Linked DNA regions of Homo sapiens: regions 1, 3 and 4 are each linked to region 2. Evidence: promoter capture Hi-C in 16 types of primary human blood cells and fetal thymus (Javierre and others, 2016). All regions are on one chromosome and are shown on one strand. Each heading gives the region's core, a stretch centred on a gene start or on the middle of the fragment in contact. The rest is flanking DNA. Distances are from core to core; before and after follow the strand shown. Region 1 overlaps DAP (death associated protein). Region 2 holds the start of ZNF622 (zinc finger protein 622). Region 3 holds the start of MARCHF6 (membrane associated ring-CH-type finger 6). Region 4 overlaps CCT5 (chaperonin containing TCP1 subunit 5).

Evidence for each region. The method cuts DNA at HindIII sites, captures the fragments that hold promoters and counts their contacts. A CHiCAGO score of 5 or more calls a contact.
Region 1: a contact is called between a fragment that was not itself captured here and the fragment with the promoter of ZNF622 in region 2, in 1 of 17 cell types (activated CD4 T cells). The highest score is 5.3, in activated CD4 T cells.
Region 3: a contact is called between the fragment with the promoter of MARCHF6 here and the fragment with the promoter of ZNF622 in region 2, in 4 of 17 cell types (naive CD8 T cells, total CD8 T cells, activated CD4 T cells and 1 more). The highest score is 7.9, in naive CD8 T cells.
Region 4: a contact is called between a fragment that was not itself captured here and the fragment with the promoter of ZNF622 in region 2, in 3 of 17 cell types (total CD4 T cells, activated CD4 T cells and non-activated CD4 T cells). The highest score is 12.4, in total CD4 T cells.

The regions. Positions count from the first base shown.
Region 1 is chr5:10,752,961-10,755,660 of GRCh38, forward strand. The region is part of intron 1 of DAP (death associated protein); the gene reads right to left. Among named protein-coding and RNA genes, the nearest start is that of DAP-DT, 6.7 kb to the right of the region's middle. The HindIII fragment of the contact is 1,704 bases long and covers 536-2,239 here.
Region 2 is chr5:16,464,542-16,467,241 of GRCh38, forward strand. ZNF622 (zinc finger protein 622) reads right to left here and starts at 1,259. Exons shown (of 6, transcript NM_033414.3): 1 at 500-1,259. The coding sequence starts at 1,124. RefSeq lists an enhancer at 567-636 and a silencer at 2,444-2,666. The HindIII fragment of the contact is 4,211 bases long and covers 1-2,700 here.
Region 3 is chr5:10,352,331-10,355,030 of GRCh38, forward strand. It overlaps MARCHF6 (membrane associated ring-CH-type finger 6), which reads left to right and starts at 1,365. Exons shown (of 26, transcript NM_005885.4): 1 at 1,365-1,587. The coding sequence starts at 1,569. MARCHF6-DT (MARCHF6 divergent transcript) reads right to left here and starts at 1,727. Exons shown (of 3, transcript NR_183261.1): 1 at 1,642-1,727. RefSeq lists enhancers at 924-1,183, 2,030-2,601 and silencers at 1,324-1,463, 1,504-1,973. The HindIII fragment of the contact is 4,878 bases long and covers 1-2,700 here.
Region 4 is chr5:10,251,319-10,254,018 of GRCh38, forward strand. All of the region lies in intron 1 of CCT5 (chaperonin containing TCP1 subunit 5), which reads left to right. Among named protein-coding and RNA genes, the nearest start is that of CCT5, 2.4 kb to the left of the region's middle. RefSeq lists a silencer at 1-112. The HindIII fragment of the contact is 2,706 bases long and covers 7-2,700 here.

The DNA of each region.
Region 1 (2,700 bases), core at 138-2,637, 5.7 Mb before region 2:
TTCCAGCTCTTCACCCTCTCTTCACAGCAGTTCCTTAAAGAGCGCTGCCCTACGGGTTGCTGGGGAATGAAGGCCATGCCCTGTAAAGCACCTGCCCATCGTGGTGCTGACCACCACCAGGACCTCCGTCATTACATCACCACCTGAGGAAGCTTTGGGAGAATCACAGATCCAACTTCTGCTCCTCATCACCACTCTGTGGCAGGCACCGCTCTAACCACTTGGAGTCCACGCATCTTTCACTGCACAGCAGCCCCACGGAGTAGATCCTGAGGCAGGGAGAAGGGGAAGCCAGCGGCCCCAAATCGCACAGCTGGCAAGCGGCAAACTGGGTTCCACCCTTAATCGTAGGTAAGCCTTTCCTTGATCAGATTCCTTCCAGGAAGCAGAGCACCATGGCTTCTGAGAGTAACTCAAAGGAACGGCCTACAGACAGGGCCAGGTTATTACACTACCTAGATAAGGGAAGGTGAGTTTGAAATGAAAAGCTCTCCACAGAGCAGCTGCCTGCCCAAGTGGGAAGGGGAGTGGAGGAAGCTTTACCTACGGTCACATCTGGGAGGTAAGCAAACACCAAGGAGGCAAATGACTATGTGGGACCCTGGGCCAAGCATCCGTCCTCAGGTGTCAGGATGCCTGGCTGTAAGATGCAGTCACTGGTGGCTTGCTATCTGCTAGTGCCAAATAGCAAACTAGAAAATGCTACTGCGGGAAGAAGAAAGGGGAAATACTGGAAGAGTTCCATGAACCAGGGAGCAATTTCCAGCAGGGAGCTAGGAAGGGCTGTTAACTCACACAAATGTCCCAAAAGCATCCACTGCAGGTACTGGAGTATGACTCACAAGTATATGCTACCTTTGTTCTTGCCTGAGAAGAGCTATGGAAATGTTATTCAAAGGGAAGCTCTTCTACCTAAAAGAAGTGACGAAAGGTTCTGAGGACTGTTCCAGTGGAAGGAACAAAACAAAACAGAAAACAACCAGTGCTGCAGGTTATGATTAAACCAAAGGATCTCAGGTAGAGCAATGTAGTGGCAGGTAAGCAAAGGGGCTGGTGAGATTAGGTGGGTAGAACTTCCCAATGCGAACAGGGCAAGGGACTATGGCCTATCTTAGTTAAGAAAAATGACTCCACCAGGAGAGAGGAGAATCACTGGCAAGTGGAGACTCACATCTATGGAAGCCCATGCACCTGAAGGTGGGAACCCTAAAAAGTGGAGAGGATAAAGGGGTGAGAGGCGGTAAGAACGTATGCAGAGAGTGGGTACTGACAGTCTGGCCCAATAACAGACATAAGTTATAGAAGACCCCAATGAGAACCTTGCCCCCAGACCAAGTGGAGCCCTTACAGGAGCTTTCAGGTGTGCATAGATAAGGTAGAAGTAATGGTTTGTGCTAAAAAATGAGCTGGAGCCCCAGATACTTTCCTGAATTTGCACTCTCGTTGGCTTCATACTGCTATTCTGTGCTCAGAATCATAGACTGTGAAGGTGAGAAGGCTCTTAAATTACACGGAGCAACCCTGTTAAAGAATGAAGTTCAGAGACATAGTGGGACCCCCCTGGGCCAAACACTCCATCTTCCACAGCAGTGTGTGTTCCATCCTTGACATAGTTTCTGACCCAAAGGACAAAATGAGTACTGACTGGGCCAGGATGGGCACCTTGCCGGACATCTGACTGGGCCCCTTTCAAGCTGGGAGGTACATGGAGCAGCTACATGTATATCCTTGAGTGCAGGGAGGCTGATTCAAAAAGTTTAGGGGAAAGTAGGATCGGCTGCCTGGAAGTGCTTTGGAAAAGCTGTCATTGGGAATTGGTTGAGGCTAGGACTAGTCAGGTGTTTGCCAGTCTCACTCCCAGCTTCCCCGTAGTTGGATTGGGGGCATCAAACTGGGTCCTGCCCAATAGTATGGGGAAAAGTGACTTTGGTGGGCAGCATCATGTCATCACGTCCCCCCACTCTGGAACCTGTGAGTGTGCTGGGCTACACGGCCAGGGGAAATGAGGGTTGTAGATGGAATTAAGGTTGCTCATCAGCTGACTGTAAGCTGAGGAAGAAGAAGGGAAACTGCTATTCTGTGCTTAGAATCATAGACTGAAGGTGAGGAGATTATTCTGGATTACCCAGGTGGGCCCATGTAATCTCAAGGGTCTCTGAATGTGAAAGAGGGAGGCGGAAGAGTCAGGGCTCTGAGTGTGTGATGTGAGGATGTGACTGGTCATTGCTGCCTTTGAAGAAGCTTTCCTTGGCTTGTGGAGGAAGGCGCCACGAGCCAAGGAAAGTGGGCAGCCTCTAGAAGCTGGAAAAGGCAAGAAAATGGGATTCTCCCCGATCCTCCAGAAGGAACCAGTTGCCCTGTGGATACTTTGATTTTAGCCCAGTGAGACCCATCTTGGACTTCTCACCTCTAGAACTGTAACATAATAAAACTGTGTTGTTTAGAACCACTAAGTTTATTGTGATTTGGTACAGCAGCCATAGGAAACTGATGTGATGATGCATACCACTTGTGGGCCACACCATACGGACCCCAGCACGGCGACCTACACTTGTCCCCTCAGCAGCAGCCACACAATGAAAAGCTAGTGTTATACAGCAAGGGGTGTCTGGGCCTCTGAATTGCTCTTTGTTAAGAAGACCCCACCCAGGAGAGAAATAAACCTGGATTAGTTTGGCCACTGAGAATTTAGGTTGTTTG
Region 2 (2,700 bases), core at 9-2,508:
TGAGGGAAGTAAGGAATAAATAGCTCATAAAGGCAAAGAGGTGAGGGTGCTGGCTCCAGCTCCAAATTTCTGGCTGAGTTGGTTTTGATCCCCTCATTCTGTTTTACTCAACTAAATTAAGTGCAAAACCATCATAACTGGAAACCCACTAGAATCGCAAATTACACGGCAGCTGGTATGACGATAGCATGTCCTCCTGTGCATATGTTAAAAGCCTCTTCATCCAAAACACAGAAGGCATCAATTCATTCTCCAAATATGCATTAAGCACTTCTTTTTCCAGACAAGGTTTTAGGCCTTGGAGAATGAATTGAGTGAACTAAACAGCCAAACCTGCTGGCCAGATAAGGCACTTCAGAAAGCGTCTAAACCACCTTCCCTCATCATTTTTACTTAAAAGCTCTCAAACACACACACACACCCATCTCGAGTATAAATCTGGAAACTTAAGGGTGGGCCAAGTTCCTCTTTACCCTCCCCGCCCAGACAGGGCCATCACCGTCTCCATCCAGGTCCTCTTCCTCCTCCTCGCTGTCCTCCTCCTGCTGCTTTGCCAACTTCTTCGCCTGCTGTTCAAACCACTGGAGCCGGGGTGGTTTCTCACTCGGGTCTCGGTCGTGGGTCCCACGGCCACCAGTACCCACGGCCACGACATTCCTGGCCTCCTTTGCAGGCGCTGGGGGCGCCTTCTTGGGAGACATGGACGGCTGGGCCTTGATGGCCTGCTGGATGGCCGCGTTCATGGCATCCTTGTCCACACTGTCCACGCCCAGTCCTTTCTCCAAGTTCTTTTCATTCATCATCTCCACTTTCCGATTCACTGCCTGCACGGCCTTCTTCTCCAGCTCAACGTGACGCCGGGACTTGAGGTGGTTCTCGTAGGCGTTGAAAGAGGCAAACTTCTTACTGCAAACGGTGCAGTAGGTGGCCGAGCCCTTGCTCTCCTCCTCCGCGACGGCCCGCTGCGCCCGCACTCGCTCCTGGAAGCCCTCGGCGGTCACTGGGGCCATGCTGGCCACCTTCCGCCGCAGGTTGTAGCGGTGCCAGTCCGTCTTATAGTGGGCCCGCTGCATGTCCGCGTCGCGGAACGCCACCCGGCAAGTTATGCAGGTGTACGTCGCCATTGCCAGGCGAGAAATAAGAACCGACCAAGCCAAACACCTGGTGATCAGCGCCGTGGCCCCACAAGACCCTCAGACCTTAACCCGCCTCAGCAGCCAGGAAGAGCCACTCGACACGCCGACTTCCTGATTGTCACTGAGGAAACTTCCGGCACACGTCGGAAGTTATTCACAACTGGACAGGAAACCCGCCTCTCAGGCTGTGGCCACGCCTCCGCCGCCGTGAGGCCCAGGAAGCCGAGGGAACGCTGTGGCTGAAAGGGACCTGGGTCCGCTCAGTCAGCCCGAGGTGGCTGTTGATTGAGGGAGGTCGCGCCCTCCCAGTTACCTTCCCTGGTGGTTGTGCCGCTCGGTGTGACGCGGTCAAGGGGACGGCTACGCGAGAATGGGGGAGTGGGGCGCCCGAGGCTGCTCCTGGGCCCTGGGAAGCCCCCGATTAATGAATGGTCGGGTCAGCGACGCGAGGGTCGGGGTTTCTCTGAGGACCGCGCGCTGCACCTGCGGAGCCGGGTGAATGGATGTCGCGAAGGCAAGGGCTGCCCTTACCCCTCGGGGCCGACCTCGGAGCCCTCGCCCGTGGTTGCAACGCTTTCCCGGGAAACCGGAGAAGCCAGGCCGGGGGCTCGGCCTTTCTGAGGCGGCCCTTCCGGCGGAGGACACCGGCGGAATTTGAGTGCACAGAGTGCGCGAGAGGAGCTCCCTGTAGACACACAGTCCAAGCCACGTAGGTAATTCTAATAGCAGCCACATTTTTAAAGAGTAAAGAGAAATCGGTGAAACTGCTTTTAATGTGTTTAATTTAGCCCATCCTGTCATTTCAGCATGTAATCAGTCTAAAAGAATTAATTAGATCTTTTACGCTCTGTCGTTGGTTCTAAGTCTTGGAAATCCAGTGTGTGTTTTAGAGTTAACAGCCCATCTCAATTTGGACTAGACCCGTGCCAGGTGCCCAGTTGGCTGTGTACCCTCATGTATATAGGACAGCAAAGTTCTGTAGAAAAGAACTTCAGGCCAGGCGCGGTGGCTCACGCCCGTAATCCCAGCACTTTGCGAGGCCGAGGCGGGCGGATCATCTGAGGTCAGGGGTTCAAGACCAGCCTGGCCAACATGGCGAAACCCAGTCTCTGCTAAAAAATACAAAAATTAGTCCCGGCGCAGTGGCGCAGACCTGTAATCCCAGCTACTTGGGAGGTTGAGGCAGGAGAATCGCTTGAACCCGGGAGGCGGAGGTTGTGGTGAGCCGAGATCGCGCCACTGCACTCCAGCCTGGGCAACAGAGCAAGATTCCATCTCAAAAGAAAAAGAAAACATGAACTTCAAATGCTTGGGGAGGTCGTAGATTTCATCCACACAGCCTGGTTGAACCAGAGTCAGCCTTGTTAGAGTCGAATGTTGCATGCTCAGAATCCAGGCTGCCAAGAGAAAACCAAAAGAAGATGGCGCTTTAAAAAACCTTCCAGTGCCTTCCCTTGACTCAATCAAATTCAAACACCTTACTTTCTATTCTCCGAGGCTCTACCCCTCCCTCTGAGGTCCTGCCACACCCCCTTCTCTACCCTGCTCACCCTACTTGAGTCGC
Region 3 (2,700 bases), core at 115-2,614, 6.1 Mb before region 2:
AACATATTTAGGCAGGGCATAGTGGCACATGTCTGTAACCCCAGCACTTTGGGAGGCCGAAGCGTGAGGATCGCTTAAAGACAGGAGTTGAAAATCATACTGGTCAATATAGTGAGATTGCAGTGAGCCATTATCGCGCCACTGCATTCCTGCCTGGGTGACAGTGCGAGACCCCTTCTCAAAAAAAAAAAAAAAAAAAGAAAGAAAAAAATCATAAGCAAACAACAACAAAAAAACAAATATAAAGAATGGCGGTCTGCTTAATTCTCCGTGCCAGCCCTTGAAATCAGTGGGTATTATTATGTAGAGTTTGAGTTCTTTCCTCCCTTGAGTAACATGAGTGACATCAGTAACATTAGTCAAGCGCTGCTCTTTTTGAAAGACTGTATTTCATTATTTTTATTCTAAACCTTACTCTGTTTGATGAAGATTGGGGGAAGAGCCCTCCCAATTCCACCGCTCACACATAACAGCGGTTGCTAGCATTCTTTATTTGTGCTAGGTCATCTGCATATTGTTTAAACATTTTTCGAGGCTGGAAAGACTGCTCCCACTCAGGCAATTCTGACGTGGCGGCCCTTCTAATTTATATTCTCTAAATAATTCTTCATTTAGAGAAAACAGTCAGGGATTACAGTGAGGGAGGGTGACGTGCTGACGGGGACAGAGCTTGGCTTTTGATCATTCTCCCCTTAGCTCTGCCCAGGCAAGCGTCCCTAACTCAGGGTATCGGAACCGATCTCCCTTAGAGGATTATGTTTCAACCACCAGCCTCAGCGGTTTACTCAAATGTCCTTCCAGCCAAATGCAGAAGTCTCCCTGGGAGTAATTTTGGTGAAGTCAGCTTTTGCCTTTTTCATCACAGGCAGGCTTTAGTAGTTCCTCAAAACGTGCACCACAACTGCCCGGCTGCCAAACAGAAATGCTGATGCCTGGGCCCACTCTAGCCATTTGGCCTCGGCATCACGGTGCGGGAGCGTGGGGCGCAGACTCGCATTGTCACAGGAACCTCCCGGCCTTCCGAAGAGCCCCGCGCCGGGGCCTTTGTCTCGCACGTCGGCTGGGGCGGGAGCTAGGTTCTCGCAGCCTCCTCCCACCGCTCTGCGCCTTCTTTGTCCCTCCAGAAGCCGCCATCAAAGCTCAGCTCCTGATTAGGTTTCGGCCCCGCTGGCCGGCGCAGTCTCGGCGACTACCCCAGGCGGCCTGGCGCACGCGAGGATTCGCCGCGCCCCAGATGCAGGTGCCTCCCCTCCTTAGCCGCCGACCGACAGTGCACGCCGCGGCCGCCGGAAGTGACAGCGCCTGTCGTTGGGGAGCTCCCGCCCCTTCCGCCTCGGCGCCCCGCCCAGGCCTCGCCCCTAGGTGTTCCCGCCCCTCCCCCTCCCGTGTCGCTCGCTTTCTGTCAGCCTCTCTCCCTCTCCCTCTCCCCTCTCCTTCCTCTCGCTTCCTCTCTCGCACCTGAGCGTACGCACCTGCCCGGGCCCGGCTCCCTCCTCCTCTCCCCTCCCTCTTTCCCCGCCCGGCCGCGGGAGCCTCGTGGCTGCGTCACCGCCGCCCCCCCAGACAAGATGGACACCGCGGAGGAAGGTAAGTCGGCGACGCGCGGCGCCCGAGCCCTTGCGTCGGCGCCCGGGTTCGTACCCCGGCCAGGTCCGCGGCGCTCGAGGTGGGCTGCTGGATCGCGGCGGGGCGGACGCCTGGGCCGTTTGTCCACCCGCTGGGCCTCTGGGCCGGGGAGCGGAAGGTGACCCTCTGCGCGCCCCCCGCCGTTTCCCGCCCGCGCCGCCGAGGGGGGCGGGGACCCTGCCGGGCAGGGGCCGGGGCCGGGGTCGGGGCCTCGGGGCTACTGCAGGCCGGCGTGGCCTCCCTTGTCCCCGCCGTCGCGCGCTGGCCCAGAAAAGGGGGCCTCTGTCGCTGCCGTCCGGGGGCGTTTTCCGCACCCTTCCCCCACTGGGTTTTGTCTTTCTTTACGTCCTTCTGCCTATTGCTCGCCAGGCCCTACCCCCTCGCGACAGAACTTCTTTGTTGACTTTGAAACTTCGCGAAAAATACCCCGCCAGATGACGGCCGAGTGGAGTGAGCTGACCCCTGTTGAAAAGCCTGGTCCTCGGCTTGCCTGCCGCTCGAGAATCTGTTTACTAAACGGGGAGGCTCTTTTGTTGCGATCCATTTGGTTTTAAATCCTTGACACCTATAAGCAGGGTTCTGTTTGTTTTGTTTTGCGATTGCTTGTGTTTTGGATACGGTTACATTGAACAAACTGACCCTTGTAAAATGAATACTTAAGATATAAACGTCCACACCTTATGTCTCTTCAAACGCATTTTCTTACCCACTGAAGGTAGTAGATTATTTTTAACCAGCTGTGTTTTTAAATGAGTGGTGAGTTTATAGAGGAAATTACTAAATTTTGCTTTTTTTGATGTTCCGGTTATCGTGCAAATGCTTTTCTACTTTAGGTATATTTATGGGGGTATGAGCGTCTTTCAACCTTATGGGTTGCGATTTTGGCGATTTTAAACGAAAATGAATTATCAAACGCCGTCATGGAGTGCAATAATGAGTGAAAAAAGTTTGATATTATCTATGTAATGAGTTGATAACGACTTATTTTTTTTTAAAGAAGTCTTGCCTTTAATAAATACCTCAACTATAACATGTGGCACTTGATGTACATTCGCGTTCCATCTTCGTAAAAAG
Region 4 (2,700 bases), core at 110-2,609, 6.2 Mb before region 2:
CAGCAAAGCTTGAGATAGACCGAAGGGAATAAGGAAGACCAGAGGGGTTAAAGAAACCAGGGCAGGGGTGCAGGTAAGAAACATCTGAGCACCAGACGTTGACAGAAAATGCAGAGGAAGGGACACTCCGAGAGGGCCTTCAGGGTTTGTTATAAAGTGAATTCATAATAGACCATTCCACTAGGTCTCTCAGGTGTCCCTGTTCACTTAGTGTCTTGGAGGTTTACTTACGCAAAGTTAGAAACAATACAGTTCCCCTATGGACTCTTTGTTTGACTTAGTGCTAGTTACACAACCTCGCGGAACCTCCTTTTCCAGGGGGAGGTGATAGGCCTCCGTCAAGCTGAAGACTTGACAGTGATATTAAATGGAGTGACTTAGAGGGGCTGCACAGTGGTTGATCCACGGTAGGCACTCAGTATTTGTTTCCTTTCTAGAAAGAAAAAGTTTCAAGCTAATTGTATTATGTATTCCATTTTATTTTCCACTTAACAGGGACCTGCAGAGAAAATAACATCCAATACACACACCTGGTGTAACAACATAACTAAAACTAGGTTGTTTTGCATCAGCCATTTTGTTCAAACTGCATGCATTTGTGCCCAGAAGTCGCACACTCTGAGACAGGGTTATTTTACAAAACTGGGGACTTGGGCCCAGAGCAGTTGAGAAATTGTTCTGAAGAGCAGTTGCTACTAAAGAGCATTACCATGGTCAGGGCCACCGCTGTCAGAGTCAAAGCCAGTGGTCTAGAGCAGCATTCTCAAGTTTGGCATATTGACATTCGAGGTCGGATCATTCTTTGCTGTGGGAGCTCATTTGGACAGTAACCTGGGTGTTTAAGTCTCTTAAAAGAGTTGGATGCTGTTGGTAGGCATCCTGTGAGTGTTGAGGCTCAGCAGTTTAGGGATATACACTTGCTCCCTGACCTCATAGAACGTCCAGCTAACTTGAAGAACCAAAATATATGGAAATTGAAGGCAACGGTAAAAGAAATGTATAGGCCAGGACGTGAACGTTTTAATGGTAATGGTCACAGTTCTTTCTCTCTGGTCATTTAGAGCCTTAAAGGTAATATGTATTTTGTTGAGATTCTTCACTTGTTTAACACTTAACTGTATAATATTTCACCTTAAAAATGCAGGCATTGACTGGGCGCGGTGGCTCACGCCTGTAATCCCAGAACTTTGGGAGGCTGAGGCAGGAGAATCGCTGGAACCTGGGAGGCAGAGGTTGCGGTGAGCCGAGATCACGCCACTGCACTCCAGCCTGGGTGACAGAGTGAGACTCCGTCTCAAAAAAAAAAAAAAAAAGGTGCAGGCATTAGTTGGCTTAGGAAGGAATCATATTCTAAAATCCTGTAACCTAAAACAGAGCAGGCTAAGTTTCCAGGCCAGCCAGCATAATTCTGTTTTATCCATAATATGTATTATGCCTTGATGTTTGATACTCTTCCCTCTGGAAACACACAGAACTAGCAGAAGGAAGAAAAAGGTTTTTTCCACGTTGCCGAGCAGTAGGGCAAAATAGATCTCGGGATTTCGGGATCTCTCCTATTTGCCAAATTCTTTACATCCTTTTCTTTCTGCCTCTTGCTTTCTCCTTAAAAATAATAATAATAATAATTCTATTACTCAATTTGGTAGCTAAATGTGAAAAAAAAAACAGGTAACTTTTTTATTATCACTTTGACAGCTACTTACCTTCCTTAAGAGGGCCAGTTTCAGCCGGGCGTGGTTGCTCAAACCTGTAATCCTGGCACTTTGGGCAGCCAAGGCAGGTGGATCACCTGAGGTCAGGAGTTAAAGACCAGCCTGGCCAACATGGCAAAACCCTATCTCTACTGAAAATACAAAAAAAAATGAGCAGGGCGTCATGGCGCGTGCCTGTAATCCCAGCTACTGGGGGGCTGAGGCAGGAGGATCGCTTAAACCCGGGAGGCGGAGGTTGCAGTGAGCTGAGATCATGCCACTGCACTCCAGCCTTTTTGAGACACAGCAAGACTGTCTCAAAAAAAAAAAGGCCAGTCAGTAACTTTGATCTATAAATATAATTATTGGGATTTCAGGTGGGTGGAGGAAGATTTTTAAAGCAAGAGCAGTTTTTCTTTTTATTTTGTAATGGGGTCTCGCCATGTTTCCCAGGCTGATCTCAAACTCCTGGCCTCAAGCAATCCTCCTGCCTCAGCCTCCCAAGTAGGGGGGGTTGCAGGCTCTAGTACTGCATCCAGCTCAAAAGATTACAATTCTGCAGTAAATCATAGTGTGACAGTAAGGTGTTGTATGTTTACAGTTGGACTGTTTCTCATGAGTACAGGCCCCTCCTTGTCTGCAGATGGGGAACCCGCAGATGTACAAGCCTAGATGCAAGGGACTTGAGCATCTGTGAATTTGGGTATCCTCGGGGGCTCCTGGAACCTGTTCCCCATGGATGCTCAGGGAGAACTGTGGCTCCTGGAACCAATTCCCCATGGATGCTCAGGGAGGACTGTGTTGCACAGTGGTCTTGCAACGCCTGTAAGGTCATAGTCATACTGTCCCTCTTCTCAGCTGTAAATGGGCTGGTAAAAGAATCTGTCTCATTAATGTGTTGAAAATTCAGTGAGATAACACAAAGCACTTGGTTCTCTTTCTTTACGTAAGAATTGCTTATTAAAACTGGAGTCGTAAATGTTATAATACTTAAACCTGTCTGTTGCCC